Regions from separate parts of the Homo sapiens genome. Here regions 1, 2, 3, 4, 5 and 7 are each linked to region 6. Evidence: promoter capture Hi-C in 16 types of primary human blood cells and fetal thymus (Javierre and others, 2016). All regions are on one chromosome and are shown on one strand. Each heading gives the region's core, a stretch centred on a gene start or on the middle of the fragment in contact. The rest is flanking DNA. Distances are from core to core; before and after follow the strand shown. Region 1 overlaps SH2D4A (SH2 domain containing 4A). Region 2 overlaps CSGALNACT1 (chondroitin sulfate N-acetylgalactosaminyltransferase 1). Region 3 overlaps CSGALNACT1 (chondroitin sulfate N-acetylgalactosaminyltransferase 1). Region 4 overlaps SH2D4A (SH2 domain containing 4A). Region 5 overlaps CSGALNACT1 (chondroitin sulfate N-acetylgalactosaminyltransferase 1). Region 6 holds the start of SLC18A1 (solute carrier family 18 member A1). Region 7 overlaps SH2D4A (SH2 domain containing 4A).

What was found. Contacts are between HindIII fragments. The CHiCAGO score rates a contact against its expected background, and 5 or more counts as called.
Region 1: a contact is called between a fragment that was not itself captured here and the fragment with the promoter of SLC18A1 in region 6, in 6 of 17 cell types (neutrophils, monocytes, total B cells and 3 more). The highest score is 12.0, in neutrophils.
Region 2: a fragment that was not itself captured here is called in contact with the fragment with the promoter of SLC18A1 in region 6 in 1 of 17 cell types (neutrophils); the score reaches 5.6 in neutrophils.
Region 3: a fragment that was not itself captured here is called in contact with the fragment with the promoter of SLC18A1 in region 6 in 1 of 17 cell types (neutrophils); the score reaches 5.0 in neutrophils.
Region 4: a contact is called between a fragment that was not itself captured here and the fragment with the promoter of SLC18A1 in region 6, in 1 of 17 cell types (neutrophils). The highest score is 5.6, in neutrophils.
Region 5: a fragment that was not itself captured here is called in contact with the fragment with the promoter of SLC18A1 in region 6 in 1 of 17 cell types (neutrophils); the score reaches 6.9 in neutrophils.
Region 7: a contact is called between a fragment that was not itself captured here and the fragment with the promoter of SLC18A1 in region 6, in 1 of 17 cell types (total B cells). The highest score is 6.5, in total B cells.

The regions. Positions count from the first base shown.
Region 1 is chr8:19,371,415-19,374,114 of GRCh38, forward strand. It overlaps SH2D4A (SH2 domain containing 4A), which reads left to right. Exons shown (of 10, transcript NM_022071.4): 8 at 2,116-2,246. Among named protein-coding and RNA genes, the nearest start is that of SH2D4A, 59 kb to the left of the region's middle. RefSeq lists a silencer at 1,082-1,243. The HindIII fragment of the contact is 2,006 bases long and covers 321-2,326 here.
Region 2 is chr8:19,480,714-19,483,413 of GRCh38, forward strand. The region is part of intron 3 of CSGALNACT1 (chondroitin sulfate N-acetylgalactosaminyltransferase 1); the gene reads right to left. Among named protein-coding and RNA genes, the nearest start is that of SH2D4A, 170 kb to the left of the region's middle. The HindIII fragment of the contact is 4,312 bases long and covers 1-2,700 here.
Region 3 is chr8:19,521,414-19,524,113 of GRCh38, forward strand. The region is part of intron 2 of CSGALNACT1 (chondroitin sulfate N-acetylgalactosaminyltransferase 1); the gene reads right to left. Among named protein-coding and RNA genes, the nearest start is that of CSGALNACT1-AS1, 160 kb to the right of the region's middle. The HindIII fragment of the contact is 2,371 bases long and covers 128-2,498 here.
Region 4 is chr8:19,389,776-19,392,496 of GRCh38, forward strand. All of the region lies in intron 8 of SH2D4A (SH2 domain containing 4A), which reads left to right. Among named protein-coding and RNA genes, the nearest start is that of SH2D4A, 77 kb to the left of the region's middle. The HindIII fragment of the contact is 5,990 bases long and covers 1-2,721 here.
Region 5 is chr8:19,599,825-19,602,649 of GRCh38, forward strand. CSGALNACT1 (chondroitin sulfate N-acetylgalactosaminyltransferase 1) reads right to left here. Exons shown (of 9, transcript NM_001354483.2): 2 at 1,947-2,041. Among named protein-coding and RNA genes, the nearest start is that of CSGALNACT1-AS1, 77 kb to the right of the region's middle. The HindIII fragment of the contact is 213 bases long and covers 1,175-1,387 here.
Region 6 is chr8:20,181,863-20,184,562 of GRCh38, forward strand. It overlaps SLC18A1 (solute carrier family 18 member A1), which reads right to left and starts at 1,274. Exons shown (of 16, transcript NM_003053.4): 1 at 1,201-1,274. The HindIII fragment of the contact is 10,670 bases long and covers 1-2,700 here.
Region 7 is chr8:19,351,355-19,354,197 of GRCh38, forward strand. The region is part of intron 4 of SH2D4A (SH2 domain containing 4A); the gene reads left to right. Among named protein-coding and RNA genes, the nearest start is that of SH2D4A, 39 kb to the left of the region's middle. The HindIII fragment of the contact is 764 bases long and covers 1,106-1,869 here.

The DNA.
Region 1 (2,700 bases), core at 74-2,573, 810 kb before region 6:
TCTTCTGAGAAGTCTGCTGCTGGGTGTATTGGATCTGTCTTACATGTTATTTGCTGCTTTTCTTTAGCTGCTTTTAGGATCCTCTATTTGTCTCTGCACTCTGAGGGTTTGATTATAATATGTCTTGGGGTATTCCTATGTAGGTTGAATCTGACTGGTGACCTTCGATCATCCTATGCTTGGCTATTAATTTTTTTCCAGGTTTGGAAAGTTTTCTGTTATTATTTCTTTGCATAAGCATTTAACCCCTTTGTCTTCCTGAATTCCCTCTTTAATAACTCCAATATTTACTCTTTTGATGTTGTCCCACAGACCCCATAAGCTTTCTTCATGTCATTGTTTTCTTTTTTATCTCTGTGTATTTTCAAATAGCCTGTCTTCTGGCTCACTAATAAGTGTACTGTTGAAACCCTCTATTGCATTTTTCATTTTATTCATTGCATTTTTCGGCTCCAGGATTTGATTTTTTAAAATTACTTCAGTCTTTCTGCTACATTTCCCTGATAAATTTTTGAATTGACTCTGTTCTTTCTTGAAGTTTGTTGAGCTTTCTTAAAACAGCTATTTTGAATTGTTTCAGAGATCACACATCTCTATGACTTTAGGCTTGACCTGTGGTATCTTATTTTGTACACTTGGTGAGGTCATATTGTCCTGAGTCTTCTTGATGCTTGTGTATGTGTGACAATATCTGCACATTTAAGGATTAGGCTTTTATTCCACTCTCCACAGCCTGGCTTTATTTGTGCCTGTCTTTCAGAGGCCCTTCCAGAAATTCTAAAGCAACTTAGAATTCTTAAATTGTTTCCTGAGCCTGTGACCACTGCAGCCATCTCAGCACTAGAGGGCGCTCCAAGTCCAGGCTTGCTGCAGCTCTCCCAAGGGCTCTATGATTTACACAGCTCTCCCTCCCTGATGGACCTGAGGAAGAACTCAAGGAGGGTACAGGGGCTGTGTGGGAAAGCTGGTCAGGGACTCCAGTACAGAAGACTGTTTTAATGACCCAGACAAGTGTGTCTCCTAGTGCATCCCTGCAGGGAATGGATACTTCCTTGGCTTTAGTGGTGGGAGGGGATGGAGCTGATATTGGACCCCATCAGCATCTGTTTTTGGAGAGTGGCTGGAGAGCACATCTCATTGGCTCAGATAGACGCTTGTCTCCCAGCAGGTGCCTCTACAGACAGGATAGTTCACTGACTGCAGTGGTGTTGTTGTGTTTAAATTGAATTCTGCTCAAAATTAGTACGCTGTTGAGTAGGACTTGGAAGTCTGTTTATTACATTGCAAGGTTACTCTTTGTAGTAGAAATTGACTTACATCCTAGAACTTAGGTTCTGCTACTGAATCTATTTCAAAATGATTCTGCTGCCTGTATCTTTGTCTTTTCAAACTTCAAATACTCTTCTTCCTTTTACTTTGTATTTCTTTACTTTTTTTTTTTTTTAGCAGAACTAAATGTCATCAAAGTGTGGAAGAGGATAAAGCAAGTCAGGGAGGTTAGTGGAAAGAGAAGAGAAAATCAAATAATGCAAACATTAGGAAAGAAATCTATCTTATTGCATTTGATTTCTATTGTTTGCAAATACCTGCTTTCCAGGAAAATGTGCTGGGGTAAAAGTGTATTTTGCCTTTTAATGCTTATTTTCTCAGATGTTAATTGGAAGTTAATGGAGCTTATAATTCCTATACAAATGAACTTAAATCTGTGTGTTAACACAGCAGTGGCTCATTTCTATAACTAGCCCTTTAAGACTGGAAGCACAAGTGACAGATTTATATTCCTTCCTCTTCTGCCCTTGAGGAGGTGTATAATGGTAGTGTGTCAGGGCTCCAGCCTCCTGTTAGCTGAGGTCATTGAATTAGATCTGGAAATGTGTATAATTCCCTCTCCCTCCCATTCTCTCTCTCCCCCCACCCCCACACACACATGTGTATATATATATATATGTATATATATTTGCATGTATAAAGCACCTCTGGTGTCTACAGACATGCATGTATATATATGCATGTATATGTATGTGTGTGTGTATATATATATATATATATATGACTTTTGAGGGCATTATTTTCAAATTAGTTAAATCTAACTTGAAAAACTTTTATAAATAACAGAAATCAGGGAGTGGTGAGGACACTGTCCAGCTCTGCCCAAGAGGACATCATCCGGTGGTTTAAAGAGGAGCAGCTACCACTTCGAGCGGGCTACCAGAAAACCTCAGACACCATAGCCCCCTGGTTCCATGGTGAGTGCAGAGATTTCCTCAATGGTGTTTCGTCTTAGGGCGGATGAAGCTGTGCTAATCTACCAGGAAGCCAGAATAAAAGCTTCCATTTATTGGTGCTGCCCAAAAAGAGTCTTTCAGATTATTTCACAAAGCAGTTTTTCAAAGACGCCTCAGTAAGCTGCATTCTCATGACTGTTTAGAAAGCAGTCAGCATTCATGGGCACTGTATGCACTGTGGGGCAGACTTATCACCACAAATAAAATGCATCAGATGGGAGGGCAAAGAGGCATTCCTGGTGACTTACCACTAGGGTGCTTGTTTGTGACTTCCATCAAATGGCCACGTCTTCCTTTCACCGAGGGACACACAGTCATGGGTGTGGGAATGTGCTGGACAGGACACTGGCTGAGCAACCTTGAACAAATCATTACTTTTTCCGTAGGAAATCAATTTAAGCCTCATTTTCCCCAT
Region 2 (2,700 bases), core at 201-2,700, 700 kb before region 6:
CAATGAAGAAGTAAAACGTGTATTTACAGACAAGGGCTCATTTCTCTTCTCATTTCCTATCCCTACCAGGCTCACTCCAGCAGTGAGTTGCCTTTAAGATTAGAAGCCACACCAACAACACTGGGAGGAAAAACGAGGAATATTTCTTCTTTCTAAACAGTTACTCTAAAGTTTCCACCCGGCATCAACACCAGGCAATATCGACTCATTCCCCTCTTGTGCCCTGCTGTTTTGGCTCTCCTACGAGAGTGAGGGATCCTAGGTCTGTGTACTTCTCAAGTTCCAATTGCATGAGGTCATCTGCCCGTCCAAGTGCCTAAAATGTTGTCTACTGCTGGAAATATCACAGTGTAAGTCTTTTTCCAAGTTTTAAAGGCTGTAATTAATCAGGCATTAGCTTTACAATGACCAGTTCTTATGTGCGGCTAATAAAACCATCCTTCATCTTTCCAGTCACATCTTACTCCTTTCTAACTTTATTTTGCCACCGTGCCAGTCTTCTCATTTCCTGAATGCCTTGTGCCCATCGACCTCTGTGCCCTGGGTGTCTGTCCTTATAGTCTGCCCCATACTCCTGGTTGGCACCTTGCTAGTCACGGTCCTGTTTTAATCTTCATGTGTCTACGACGTCTCATTTTCCCAACTCAGAGTAGAAATTACATCTTATTCAAAAATCTTGACTACATCCTAGGGCCTAACAAATGGGAAGGTGCTTAGCAGGTGCTCGATAAACACCTGTGGACAGGAGTGACTTTATATAAAGATCACAGGTCTTTAGCTAAGTACCCTGCCCAAGATCTTCATCAAAGTCTACCCAAACCTCCTCTTGAGCTCAAAATCACAGTGGGGACACACTTAAGAACACCCTAGAACCACCCTGTGAAAACAAAGTCCCAAACTGGAGATAAGCACACATCCTTATGGTCAAAATTTTATAATCAAAATGACATCATAGTCGTTTCTGTATCCTCAATGCCTCCCTCTCTGGCTTTTCTACCCGGGCCATAGAAAAAAGTGCTGAGCTCATGTTGCTGTGATTATACCACAGGTGACAGGACTAGAACACATCCCAGAGTAACCCAGACTTAAGCCAACAAACATGTATCAAACCCATCTTATGTGCAAAGCTAAAACTTATGGAGATACAGAGATAAAACAGTATTTTCTCAACTGAAGCAACTTTTGAATACTTAGAAGTACTCAAAATAATTTAAGGGTTTCAAAATGCTGGCAGGAGTGCAGGGGGCTTTTTTTTCCATATACTGCAGCTACTCAATAGGACATAGGCAAACACACCGATGCTTTCACGTTATCAGCTCTTTCCATCAAATCGCTCATGACTCCGATTAAATACACACACAGCCCTACTCCTGAGTATACACACTAGAGCTCAGCACAGCTACCGCTCCTACCATTTCCTTCCTCTCTTTCAGCGCTGAGCACCTAGATCAGCGCTGGGAAACAGAATGTTCGGTGATAATGGACATGTTCTTAATCCATTTTGTCAAACGGCTACTGTACACTTGAAATGTGGCTAGTGAAATTGAGGACATACATTTTTAATTGTATATGATTTTAATTAATTTTTGTTTAAAATAAGCACATGCAGGGAGCAGCACTGTGCTGGACAGTGCCGTTTTAGGCTCTGTAACCAACATCAGAGGACTTTTTCCTTTTCTTGTCCCACGGCAACCTTATTTCTGCCCCTACCACTCCACTGATGATGTTCTCTCCCCAATCCAGGCCAGCAATGACTTCTTCTGCTACATCCAATAGATCCTGTAAATTCTTATCTCGTACTGCCTTTCTCAATATTCGATGCTAATGCCCACACTCTCCATCTAAAGCCGCTTTCTCTCCTTGTGTTTTGAGTTACCAAATCCTTCTGACTTTCTGCCTCCCTCTTTGGCTGTTCCTTTATAATTTCCATCACGGGTGCCCTTCCTCTGCCTATAACATAATTGTGGGTGGTCCTCAAAGTTCCGATCACAGATCGCTTTTCACTCTCAATGTTTCTACGGAAAATCTCATCCATCTCCACAGTTTAAATTTGCATCAATAAGTCCTAACCCCTTAGCTCCAAATTTGATTTTTATTTTGAGCTCCAAACCCATATTCCAACTGTCTTGGCCCTCTCCCTTTATGTGTCCCAGAGACAGCTCAAAGTCACCCCTACAACTAAGCTGATCATCTCTCCTGGTCTAGTTCTTCCTCTTCTGAGGAGCAGTGAGTGGCATTAGCATTAAATGAGCTGAGCTTCATCCTTCACACCTCCCTCTCCATCCCACATCCAGTATACAGTGACATTCACATAGATGTTTACTATTATTTATTATCTGATCAATTACCAAGCCCCATGGGTTCTGATCCCTCAGGGTCTCTGGAATCACCCACTTCTCTTATCCCTAATTCTGCTACCACAAATGAAGCTGGTAACGTCTCAGCCTGGAATTACAACAACAGCTCTTTGTCCCTCTAGGCTGAGTCCCTCCAATACATTCTCAACAGAGCAGACAAAGCAATATTTCTAAATATAATTCTAATAATGTCACCCTTCTGTTTAAGCCCTTCAATGGCTCCCTGGTTTCATTAAGACAAAGCCCAAAGGCATGTGAAGTTAAAGCACTTCATTATGTCTGGTTCTCAGTGATATCCCCAAGTTTCATCTCAACATGCCCTGACCCCAAACTCAATGCTCCA
Region 3 (2,700 bases), core at 63-2,562, 660 kb before region 6:
GACTTACGTCTGTAATCCTAGCACTCTGGGAGGCTGAAGTGGGTACATCACTTGAGGTCAGGAGTTTGAGAACAGCCTGGCCAACATGGTAGAAACCCATCTCTACTAAAAACACAAAAATTATCCAAGCTTGGTGGTGTGCGCTTGTAATCCCAGCTATTCAGGAGGCTGAGGCAGGAGAATTGCTTGTACATGGGAGGCGGAGGCTGCAGTGAGCCGAGATCACACTACTAGACTCCGTCTCCAAAAAAAATAAAAACAAGAAGAAGAAGAATAGCGCCAGGGTTTAACATGTACATTTCTGAGGATGGAGCTGCCACTGAAAAATAACACACACAAGAGAAGTTCTAGGAGAAAGACAAGTTTGGTTTCATGGACCTGCAAACTTTGCTCTGCCTGCAGGAATGGAAGATAAGAGAGGGGGACTTTGAAAACAGAGCTCTGCTGGCATTCTTCAAATTACTGCACAGGCAAGCATCTGCTCTACCAATCCCTGCGTCGTGGTAAGACTTCATGTGTCCATTTGTTCTGACGTTGTAAGTTGCTTCCACATCTTGTATTTCCCTTTCTCCTAGCAGTCAATGCAGTGGTTGACATTACAGGCTCTGAGGTTGAGACCATTTGAGCCCTGCAGTTGTTTGGTTTCTTGAAGCCTTTGTCTCCCAGACCTGAGGAGCACAGAAAGGCTTGTCTTATAGAGTCCTCATGACGTACTCAGCATAGTGCCTGTAACAGAGTTAATATGAAATCAGTGTGAGCTAAATTAAGGTCAAAACCGTATTAGTGAGAGAAATGTGGCATGGACATCACTTTGCTGATGAGAAAACTACCACCAAGAAATAAATGGTTGGTGTGTATACACAGGTACAGAGCTGGTAGAAAGCACAGTAAGAACCAGAACTCAGAACTCGAGACTCTTCATCTCTTGCCTCTAAATTTGCACTTTCCAAATTTTAAATCAAAATAACTCACGTTCTTACCTCTCCAGATCCATTTATTTTAAGAAAAGAAAACCATAGTAAATTTGAAAAACTCTCTCTAAAATGCCATTTAAACTAAGTGGTACAGATTCCATTAGGGATCCTGGGAGATTTTAAAAGGCGATGTATGTAAAATGCTTAGCCCAGTGTCCTGGCACAGTGGAGGAGGACATTAGGTCTGGGGACAATAGATTCCATAGTTGTACACATGGGGCTGCAAGCAGCAGAAGCATTTTTCTGCACCAGCAACTTACCAGAAGGACTCTGGGTACACCTTGGTGAAGTTCTGACCTGCAAAGTCACTCTTCAAGTGGCAGCAAGCACATTTGGGAGAAATCTCAAAACCTCCTAAGTTATTTTTAAATTGCAATTTTCCAGTAGCTCAAAATATGATTCAATACACTAACGTTCTAATTTCAGCTACTGGTACTAGACACATTCCCAAGGCTCAAAAAAAAATTTAAACAATAAAAGATTCTTCCCAAAGTAAGGCTGCAAGATGTCTGTGGTGAGCGGAGTTTCCTGATTCCCTCTTCAAACTGCATGCTACTATCCTGACATATAACAAGGCTCAGTTCAAGGCTGCCTAGGAGAGGCATAAAATGCCTCCATGTGAAAGATAAGTTGGAATATGATCCTTTTGAATACACTCGTGTGAAGCTGCAACAATTGCGGACATTACCACCACTGCATTGCAAAAATCTACAAGGAACAAGACCATCAGAGTTCCATCTCACGTAACAGTGACCTACACTGAAGCAAGCACCTGTGAAAGAGGGGCGGGGCACCACCTTCTCATGCCACACCCACCTCGCTCTATAGGAAAGGTGGCATGTAAGATGTTCCTCAACAGCATTATCACACAGTACTATTTTTACTTACTTATTTGGAGACAGGTTCTCACTCTGTCACCTAGGCTGAAGTGCAAGGGCGCGATCATGGGTCACTGCAGTCTTGAACTCCAGGACTCAAGCCATCCTCCCACCTCGGCCTCTGGAGGAGCAGGGACTACAGATGCATGACATGATGCCCAGCTAATTTTTTTTTTTTACTTTTTGTGGAGACGTAGTCTTGCAATGTTGTCCAGGTTGGTCTTGGACTCCTGGGCTCCAGCGATCCACCCACCTTGGCCTCCCAAAGTGGTGAGATTACAGGCAGGAGCCACCACGCCCAGGCTACATGGTACTATTCACACCCAGGCTACATTGTACTATTAAAACAGAAAACAACTTTTCTAGCATTCAGTAAATAATGTTATAAACAATGTGAATTGTATTCACGTAATCATCAAATATCTATTAAATGCTTACTGCATGGAAGGGACCATACCAATTATCACAGGAGACAAACCGAAGGGTCAGCTGAGATCCCTGTCCTCACCAGGGTAATGGGGAGTGGCAAGGACAGTTCTAAAAACAATGTTTATGTCAAGGGAATGTGATCAGTCATTCGCGATATAAACAAAACAATGCCGTAGTTCAGAGGAGAGAAAGATCATCTGTTTGGAAGAATCACAGAAGCTTCTGCAGAGCCTTTCAAGTTGAGTATTATTTGTTAGGTAGAGATGGAAAAACTTGGGAGAATACCCAAATCATCATGGATATAAAATATGCAGCAGGGCCAGGCACAGTAGCTCACACCTGTAATCCCAGTGCTGTGGGAAGCTGAGGTGGGGGGATCACTTAAGGCCAGGAGTTTGAGACAAGCCTGGGCAACACAG
Region 4 (2,721 bases), core at 218-2,717, 790 kb before region 6:
CGTGCTTGCAGTCCCAGGTACCCAGGAGGTTGAGGCTGCAGTGAGCTGAGATTGTGCCACACTGCTCCAGCTTGGGCAATGGAGTAAGACCCTGTCTTAAAAAAACAAATAAAAATTACTGCTTTTCTCTAGCACAGAAATCCTCCTATGACATCAGGTTTGGTTTCTTTAAGCTGTGCAGAGAGGGCAGGTCAGAGGGAAGCAGCACCAATGTGTCATAGCCTTTAGGGGCTGGGATGAAGACCCCTGCTTCAGAATTCTTAGAGTTGTGCAAAGGGCAATGCAGGGGACAAGTACCGTTAGGTTGACTGAGGCCGGGTGCAGTGGCTCACGCCTATCATCCCACTATCATCCCAGCACTTTGGGAGGCCGAGGTGGGCAGATCATTTGAGGCCAGGAGTTTGAGACCTGCCTGGCCAACATGGTAAAACCCTATCTCTGCTAAAAATACAAAAATTAGCTGGGCATGGTAGTGGGCTCCTGTAATCCCAGCTACACAGGAGGCTAAGGCATGAGAATCGCTTGAACCCAGGAGTCAGAAGTTGCAGTGAGCCGAGATCGCACCACTGCACTGCAGCTTGAGTGACTGTTTAAAAAAAAGAAAACGTGGAATAAGTCCTCAGTAATCAATATCTAACATTAGATTTTGGTTTTGTGCTCAAGAATTCCCTATCCCAGCAGATGAACCTCATTGCTTGGCAGTAATCACAGCCAGGACACCCCAAATGCACACAGTGCCCCTGATGGATTCATGACAGATGGATTCATGACAAACTGTACATTGACCTGTGTATTTAGCTGCACCAAGCCAGTTTGCTATTAAGGAATAGTAATCCTCTTACAAAGCAAAAAAAGCAAAGACAAACTACCACTTGGATCATTCAAAGCCTAGGCTCCAGGGCACTGCCCTTTGGAACCTGCCCTCTGTCCCATGGTGTACAAGGAGTCTCCACTATGACCTGTGCTTTGCCATCAACATGATTGATTGGGTCCTGGTGTCCCAGGAGATTAGATGGCACCAAGATCTATGCGTAAGGCTAAGGGGCTTTTGGAAAGTTTCAGTTACAGTCACTACGACCTCATTTTAAAAGGAATTTGACCTTACTTAGCCGAGGTTTGGTTATAAATTTCCAGAATAGCTTTAATTTTAGGAATCCAGATTCATCTGGATAATTTCCAGATGTCATAAATTGTAACACCTGCCCCATCTGTTGAAACAGCCTGGAATTTCATAGTGAGCCGTCAGCCTAGGAGGAGGGAGAGATCTTTTTCCAAGATGCTGCTTCTCCTCCGGTCGTGGCTCCTTGTTTCTGAAGGGGACTTTTCAGGGTCATTGAAAACATCCCTGGGTTTCGGAGTCAGTCTCATACAGTGTCTTTAGAGATTTGCCATGTGCAGTCCCCGCATGGGCTGGTACCTGGCGCCTTGTTTCAACGTATGGTTGTCATTTGTAATTTATCAATGGGACCAGGTATGCTTAGGAAGGGGAAATAGACAAACAGAAGGAGCAGCCCGTATCTGTTGGAACTTAGCCATGATTTGAGTACCTCATGGGGATAGTGGAGCATCTGAACCAAGAGGCTTTCTGTGTCCATGGTACCTACGGTGTTCCATGGGTCTGTCTCAGCAGGGAAGGGGTGGAAAAGCGACTGGACATGATACATGCAATGCATGTGCATCAGTCGTCTGCTGGGAATGAGTGTAATAGAGCCACTGCCCCTAGGAGCAAGGCCCTGGTCTGTTTCGAGGATGTTGACTATCTGCAAGTCGGGGAGACTGGCCTTTTCACCCACTCCCAGCTCTTACCTGGAGGTCTCACACTGGGTTGACCTTCATACACTGGGACTCTGCAGTGGGACACCTGGGGTCTGTGTTCTCCTAAATAGGAAGCAGGAGAAGGTCTGGTTGGATGATCTTGGCTAGAAGAAAACAGACAATTTTTAAAATCCTCCTGTCATTCAAGGGTCTGTTTACAGAAAAGAGAACAGACATGGTTTTATTTTACTCTGGAGAGAGTTCACTTCTCAATTAGCTGTACTAACAAGACAAAAGGGCTATGGCAGCCCCTTGCCTTTTCCTGAGGTGGTTCTGTTATTGTTTTGTTTTCCTGATAATAAGGTACTGAGTATCAACAGGGAGCCAACAAGAGAAGGCAAGAGCTTTGCTGAAATGAAAAAGGGCACGCGTAGAACGCTGCTCCTCCCTCCCAGATCTCAGCTCACTGAATAATTCATTGACTTCCCCATCTTTCCAAGATGCGTTTCTACTCTGTGAGTTTTACAGCATTATCTATTCATTGATGGATTATGATGGGAATAAAAAATTTGGAACATGAGTCAGACCTCATGAGTTTGGACTAACTGGGGAAAAGGCTGGTCTGGAGTAAGAGTGTGAATTCCTGAGGCATCTAAGCTATGTCTATATATAACTTCATATGTGTATATAAAGACACACATATAGTTTTATTCCTTTAAATGCCAGTGTAGTGTCATTTAGCAATAGCTACAGGCTAAGGTACTTTATAGAACTGAGTAGAACTGAGTCTGACTTGGCTCTGTCACTAAATTACTGAGCCTCCCACACCAGGGAGTCTCAATTTCAGCACTACTGCTATCTGGGGCTGGATAATTCTCTGCAGTGTGGGGCTGTTCTGTGTCTCATAGGCTGTTTAGCAACATCCCTGACCTCTAACCCCATCCTCCATCCATGACAACCAAAGAT
Region 5 (2,825 bases), core at 31-2,530, 580 kb before region 6:
AAGAAACCAACGTGCACATTGAGAAGACAGCAAATGAGTTGTTTCCTTTCTTTTTGGGCAGACAAACCTACCCCACACCCAGTGCATGCTTGGCAATCACAGGATCCCAGCAAGGGGAGTTAATTGTTCCATTCAAACATTTAGTAGCATTAGGCCATAAGTTGTGCAGTAGGGATAGCCTTGTGTGTTAAACATATCCTTCATAGAGCTTGCTCCACCATGGTTCATTCTTGGTCAATTGCTGCTCACCATTCATTCATTCATTCATTCATTCATTTAGAGACAGAGTTTGCTGTTGCCCAGGCTGGAGTGCAATGGCGTCATCTTGGCTCACTGCAACCTCCACCTCCCCTGTTCAAGCGATTCTTCTGCCTCATCTTCCCTAGTAGCTGGGTTACAGGTATGCACCACCATGCCTGGCTAATTTTTATATTTACAGTAGAGATGGGGTTTCACCATATTGGCCAGGCTGGTCTCGAACTCTTGACCTTGTGATCCACCTGCTTCGGTCTCCCAAAGTGCTGGGATTATAGGAGTGAGCCACCGCACCCAGCCTACTTCTCTATTTTGTAAAGTTTATTTTGACTGTTTTCTGGCATTATCTCAAGGTCTTACTAATTATGGTCTACATGGGGTTGTAATGACATTGCTCTCTTTTGTATCATCCAAGTAATTCTCAAAAACATTAAACATCACAAGGCCCAAGATTAGGACAGTTCCATACGCCCTTCAAGTTGACCCTGAATTACTTAAGCCTCTTAACCACTTGACTTTCTACTTAGGAAAGGATTTGGGAGGAATTCTCCTTCAGTTATTTTTGTTTGTATTATTAACTTTCAGCCAAGGTTTTTTTTATTTTTTCTATTGTTAGTAACTGAAATACAGTTCTTTATGAAACTCCACACACCCTCATTTAAGTACAGGGCAGTTCATTAATGCAAAATCAAATCATTAACTACTCTGGCTTCCATTATTTTATCTTAATAGTGTGACAAAAGTTTTTGGAAAAAAAAAAAAAGCAAAACCATCAAGCAAACCTCTATAGACATTTGTTAAATGAAGGAGGAAGGTGAAGGGGGCTTTCTGAAGATATGTATATGCTGAGTGCAGCTTACCTATTTTCATTTTTATGCCTATTGAATTACTTCTAGAAAAAAAAAAGACTCTCTGCTGAAGCTTGGAACCATATATACAGCTTCCTGTTTCATACCATCGCATGTCAACATTAATGATATTTTACAGTACTTGTTTTATTTTGTATTTTTTAAGTTTAGTCTTATCAGATGTAATAAAACATCTTATTGCATAGAAACTCAAAATTACTGGTTACAAGAGCAGAACTAAAACAACATTCCAGAGATTTTCATTTGTCCCCGGACTAAAACCAAGCTTCCAATCCGTAAGGGCACTATTCTCAAAGAGCTCTAGACAGTGTCCCTCTAAGACACCATATGTCAGAAAGAAAGCTCATTCTTCAATTTCCAAAACCATGGTATTTAAATAATTATTTTCTAGCAAAGTCAAAATTAGAGTACCTATTTGATGACAGGGTGACTATTTTAAAAAGCTCAGTATTCTGTCCCAATTTCCAATGGGAGAACAAATGTCCCTATGTAAGCGAACTGTTTCAAAAAGATGTAGCTCTTCCAGCTCTATGATTGGTTTAAGTCACTTGCCACTCTGAGAAGAGATAAATCCTTAAAAAGTTGGGAAAGTTAGATGTAGATGTAGATGTTACAGCCTTTAAAAAGTGAATGAAAAGGATTCAATGGAGCCAAGTAATTGTATTATTTTGGAAGAAGTATCATTCTCTTGAAGTAATAACTTGTTACTAATCAAGCTATTGACAGTAGAATGAAATTTCATACATTTCAAACACATCCAGAATATTGAACACAAAGCAGACCATGCAAAGGTTTGTTTCTTGAGTGAAAATGCTCACTTACCTGGGGGTTCAAGAAGGGAAGGTTAGGAGGTGGCTACATCATTGCTCCTCTGGGTCAAAATTACCTTGGCGTCTTTCCTTGAAATAGGAAGGCAGCTAAAATAAAATAAAAACAAAAGGCAACCCTTGTAAATTTCCATGTCTTAAATGTATGTGGTATTACAAAATGGGAACATTTTAAATCACTTAGTATATAAAATACAATGCATCTGAAAGTATTACCCCAAAAAGCAGGATGGTATTTGTTCTCTCCCTGTTTCAATGAATAAAATGCAAACTATTTGTTTAAAAAAAAATCAAGGCTTTAAACAGTGATAACCATGTCTAAAGGTGTCTAAAAATGAAGCTGAACATTTTCATGTGAAAAAGAGCAAATCAAAAAAGCCGATCTCGCAGGAAAGAAACGTGCCCAGCTGCCAGCGAGCCGCTTCCTAACTCGCAGCTCTGCTTCCAATGCTCTGACAGCGCTGAAGTCACACTGGGGTTTCCAGGTTGGGGTCAGGAGGGAAAGTGCTGCCCCCCTCTGCAAGGACTGTGTTCAGCGCCACCACTTAAAAAAAACGGTTTCATGAAATGAAATGTTAAAAAATAAAAAATTTCCTTTTTTCCCCAGAGAAGGTAAGAGCGCACACGCTGGAAAACGGTGGGAGCAGGGAGGAACGACCGCCTTCCCGAAGCACCGCAGGGTTCGCCGCACAACGCCGCTGGTGAGGACCGAGCGCATCTGCCCACAGCGCCCCAGCCGCGCCTGGAGCCTCCCGCTCCCCAGGGAGAACGGTGGGCGCGTCCCAGGGAACACGACACCCAAGGAGAGGGCGGGCGCGAGTCCCACCGGGTGACCCGCTCCCTGGGGGGCGTGAAGCCCCCAGACCTGCCCTGC
Region 6 (2,700 bases), core at 24-2,523:
CCTCTACCATGTTCCCTTGCTCTGTGGTTCTAGAAGCACGCTCATTCTTTTGTTTGAGCTACAAACCCCTGATCAGAAAGATGCCTTCATCTGTGAAAATAAAATATTGACTTTCATGATTAGTTCTCTATTCAGGATTTCATATCATTAGTCAGCATTAAGTCACAGTACCTTGTCAAACTTCAAGTAATAAGAGTTTCTGGGGAGAATTTCATTTTCTTTGACGTGGCTTCTGTTGTGGTATCAACAATATCACTCATTTAAATTTTAAAATAGATTACCATCATGAAATCTATCAGGCCCTAAAAATTGTATACTCTTTGACTTAGTAACTCTACTACAAGGAACCCATCCTACAAAAGAAAAAAGGTCAGAGATGCAGCCAAAGACTTATACTCAAAATGATCAATTGCAGAATTATTTTTCTTAGTGAAAAAAGTCAAACATGTTAATGGTGGATTATTAAGCGGCTCTTAAAAATTATATTTTCAAATAATTTTAATGATACAGAAAATACTATTACTATAACGTTAAGTAAAAAAGGGAAATTAAACTGTGTTTTCAACTTTATCTCAATTGTCTAAATATAAATATATGGGCACATTTTTGAGAGAGTAGAGAGATACTCAAATGCCAGTTATTTATAATCAATGACTTCAGTTATCTTCTGTGTATTTCTAAATATTCAATAATGAGCTACTTTTGTAATTAAAGAAGTAAATAATTTTAAATGATTATCACTGAAATTCAATAGTCAGCCTCAGGTGTTGGGAGTACCCCAAACACTGAGGTACTCTGTTCTAAGCCCAGGGCTGGAAGAACCCTCTCACTACTACATATTAACGTGACCAAGGTCCTAAGTGAACCAAATTCTCAGTTAAGTTTTAACCAGTAAATGCATGCAATTACTTAAGATCCTTCATTTCTCTATATAAAGGAGGTATTTCTGAATACAAATTGACTTAGGATATGTATGGATAAGAATAAAAGACAAGCCATGGAAAATTAAAAAACATAGTGAGTGAAGTAAGTACTACAAAGAGAGAGAAACACACACACCCAAATCCCAAAACAAAAACAAACAAAACCAGGAATTTGCCAACAAATCAATAGTAAACTTTACTTAACAGTCAAAATCCTCTGACAGAGACACAAATCACAAGGAAAGATTAAATTTGTCCGGAGAGAGAAAAATCTTACCTTGGAGCCCATGTTGGTGTGAGGCACTCAGTGAGGTATTGGCAGCTGTTAGCAAGACAGCAGGGACACTGTTCTCTGAACGTGGATGTGCTGTTGGATTTATTGCCTCCTGTTATCTGAGGATTCTGTGTATGTGTGTGTGTGTGTGCCTTTGTCCACAAAGATTTAATTGCAACCTCCAACAGGGTTCATTCAGACCCTTAGCTCCCTGCGTCAAAGGCAGGAAGGCAGGGCTGGAGAGGATAAAGAGAGGGCAGATATTAGCCTAAGCAAAGAGGCACTGGACTGTACTGTTTTGCATCTGTGCTTATCTATCATCGAACTCTTTAACTCTTGCCTGGGTCTGAATACAAATTGGAAGCCAAGATGGAACCAGTGTGCAGTTCCTGTTCCTTGCTACTTAGTCAAAGTGGCTCCATGTACCCCAATTAGCTTCCTGGAAAGAAACAATGTATGTTGTTCTCAAGCCATAAAAACCCAACATCTGTGGCCTCTGTAAAGGCTTAGATTATGCACTGTGTCTTCACATCTCAATACTGGCTCAGTGCCTGATACATGGTAGCATCCAATAAATATTTCTTGCATGGATGACTGGATGGTTAACTACAGGAGAAAGTGCAGTTCCTTGTGGGATCTTGAGAGGCTCTAATGATCTATATTATTCTGACATTAAACCATTGGTGGCTCAAAGAACATAAGCAATTTATGAAAAAGCAAATACACTTTACGAGCAAGAGCAGTGCAGAGATTTCCTATTTGTGGAACTGGTGGGCCCCTCCTAATTGTGGGAATTAACTAGGGAACTTTCGATTTAACGCTAAAAAAAAAGAAAATAGTTTTTTAATTTTATTTTTTTTATTTTTGAGACAGAGTCTCGCTATGTCACCCAGGCTAGAGTGCAGTGGCATGATCTTGGCTCACTGCAACCTCCACCACCTGGGTTCAAGCAATCCTCTAATCTCAACCTCCTGAGTAGCTGGGATTACAGGTGCATGCCACCATGCTCAGCTAATTTTTGTATTTTCAGTAGAGACAGGGTTTCACCATGTTGGCCAGGCTGGTCTCGAAGTCCTGACCTCAAGTGATCCTCCTGCCTTGGCCTCTCAAAGTGCTGGAATTACAGACGCGAGCCACAGCGCGCGGCCTAGATGGAAACAGTTTTAAAATGTAAACCTAGAGCGAGAAATAGGGATAGGAAACAAAGACATCAGCAGAATGTATTCATCGCTATAGTTTGCTGCTGTAACAAATTACTACAATCTGGTGGCTTAAAACAACACGTATTTAGTATCTTGCAGTTCTGGAGGTCAGAAGTCCAAAATACATCACACCGGGTTAAAATGAATGTGTCGGCAGGGCTGCATTCCTTCTGGAGATTCTGGGGGATGGTTGTTTCCTTGCCTTTTCCAGCTTCCAGAGATCTCCTGCATTTCTTGGCTCCTAGCCACTTTTACCCTCAAAGCTAGCAGCAATGCATATTCAACTCTCCCTCTGACTCTG
Region 7 (2,843 bases), core at 238-2,737, 830 kb before region 6:
GCACTTTGGGAGGCCGAGGCGGGTGGATCACAAGGTCAGGAGATGGAGACCATCCTGGCTAACACGGTGAAACCCCGTCTCTATTAAAAATACAAAAAATTAGCCAGGCGTGCTGGCAGGCGCCTGTAGTCCCAGCTACTCGGGAGGCTGAGGCAGGAGAATGGCGTGAACCCAGGAGGCGGAGCTTGCAGTGAGCTGAGATCGCACCACTGTATTCCAGCCTGGGCAACAGAGTGAGACTCTGACTCAAAAAACAAAACAAAAAAAAACAAAAACAAAAACAAAAATAAACTCTTGATTTTATGCTATTAATTCTTCATTTTCATCTTTACCATAAAAATTGAGTCCTGACAATGTTCTGTTTGTTGGAGCTTTCTGGTTTATTTGGAATTAAAGACACTTGGCATTTGTTTGACTGTACAACCCTACCATTATTATTATTATTTTGAGATGGAGTCTTGCTCTGTCGCCCAGGCTGGAGTGCAGTGGTGAGATCTTGGCTCACTGCAACCTCTGCCTCTCGGGTTCAAGCGATTCTTCTGCCTCAGCCTCCTGAGTAGCTGCGATTACAGGCACCCACCATCATGCCTGGCTAATTTTTGTACTTTCGTAGAGATGGGGTTTCACCATGTTGGCCAGGCTGGTCTTGAACTCCTGATCTCAGGTGATCCGCCTGCCTCAGCTTTCCAAAGTGCTGGGATTACAGGCCTGAGCCACCGCCTCCAGCCTATAACCCTACTTATAAACAAAGGGAATATTAAGTTAGAAGCCAGTATCAACTGTTTCTCAAAGCAGTTTGAAAAGTGAACATAATTCTTCTCATTTGACAGACAGACTCTGGGGGAAGCATATTTTGTAACCATGTAATACTGATGTTGTCAGCAGCACCTTTTTGTAACCCAGTTGCTTATGTAGATTTGAACTGTCATACTTCTAAGTTTAACGGTAGTTATTATTTTTCATACTATCTTTTGGCCAATCAGATGGGGTACACCCCCAGATCCATTTGGGATTTTCACTGATTACAGAGGGTTATTCTGACTTGATGTCTGCAGGAAGTCCACTAGCTTCTGATGTTATTAGCTTTCAGTTTTTCTTTTTTGGAAGCTTTTGCATAAATATTCATGGCAGTTTTTATGTTTAAATAGAGCAGATATGAGGCAGATAAGATTGCTTTAACTCTGCTCATAGAGCTCCAGCAGCTGTAAGAATTTCTGTAATGTGGCAGATGGATGATGACCGTAGTGGCTGTTATGCGTAAGAGCATACATATGTTCTCTCTGGGAGACCCTGAGGAAGGAGCAGGCTTCAGACGTGGAGATGACATGCATTTGGGTCCCTGTCCTCCTACCTATTAACAGGTCAACTTAGGCCAGGTGTGGCGGCTCACACCTATAATCTCAGCACTTTGGGAGGCTGAGGTGGGAGCGTCACTTGAGCTCAGGAGTTTGAAACCAGCCTGGGCAATATAGTGAGACCTTGTCTCTACTAAAATTAAAAAAAATTTAGCCAGGTGTGGTAGTGCATGCTTGTAGTCCCAGCTACTTTGGGGGACTGAGGTGGGAGGATCACTTGAGCCCAGGAAGTTGAGGCTGCAGTGAGCCCTGATCATGCCACCGCACTTCAGCCTGGGAACAGAGCGAGACTCTGTCTCAAGAACAAAAACACAATGACCAATAAAACAGGTTACCTTACCTCTTTGGTAAAGGGATAAGGCCTATTTTGACACCTAATATGAAGGTCAATGATGTATTAGACTTCAAAGTGCTTTATAAGCAAAAATTATACAGGTAGGAGGGTCATTTTCTTCCCTTTTTTGGTATAGAGATAACTAAAGAGTATATTTCCTGGGTCATAGCAGCATATGGAAGCTTCAGAGAGGACATGGTACCCTCTTTGAAAAGCCTCTTCATCCTGCCTCTAGGAGTGCTTCAAAGAGGCAGTGGTATTACTGAGGTATACCCTCTGATATTGCCATCATAAGTCATTACTTTTGAGTCCATTAATCATCTAGTTTTTTTTTTTTTTTTTTGAGACGGAGTCTTGCTCTGTCACCTAGGCTGGAGTACAGTGGCAGCATCTTGACACACTGCATCCTCTGCCTCCTGGGTTCAAGCAATTCTCTTGCCTCAGCCTCCTGAGTAGCTGGGACTCCAGGTGCGCATCATCACGCCCGGCTAATTTTTGTATTTTTAGTAGAAATGGGGTTTCACCATGTTGGCCAGGATGGTCTGGATCTCTTGAGCTTGTGATTTGCCCACCTCAGACTCCCAAAGTGCTGGGATTACAGGCGTGAGCCACCACACCTGGCCTCTAGCTGTTTTTTTTTTTTTTTTTTTTTAATAAAGGAAATAACTTTTGGATCCCACATTTTCACTCTATTACTTGTGCATATCATGGATTTGTAGAACGTGTAAGTGTATCTAAATGAGCCTGCTTTCTGCAAGTTTTAAGTTTTTCATGTTATTTTAACCCTTTAGAATAATGGCAAAATCTTGGTTCACCTTGAAAAGTAGAATTTTTATAAATGTGGTTCTTAGTATGTGTGAATAGCTTTAGAGTTTACAGTATGTTTTAGACACATTGAATAGAAGTGTTTAAATAGAAGGATTCATCTCTCGAGTGGTTTTTCAACTAATTTTTTTTTTTTTTTTTTTGACACGGAGTCTCACGGTCACCAGGCTAGAGTTCAGTGGCACAATCTTAGCTCACTGTAACCTCTGCCTCCCAGGTCCAAGTGATTCTCCTGTCTCAGCCTCCCGAATAACTGGGATTAACAGGCATGTGCCACCATGCACCACCATGCCAGCTAATTTTTGTATTTTTAGTAGAGATGGGGTTTC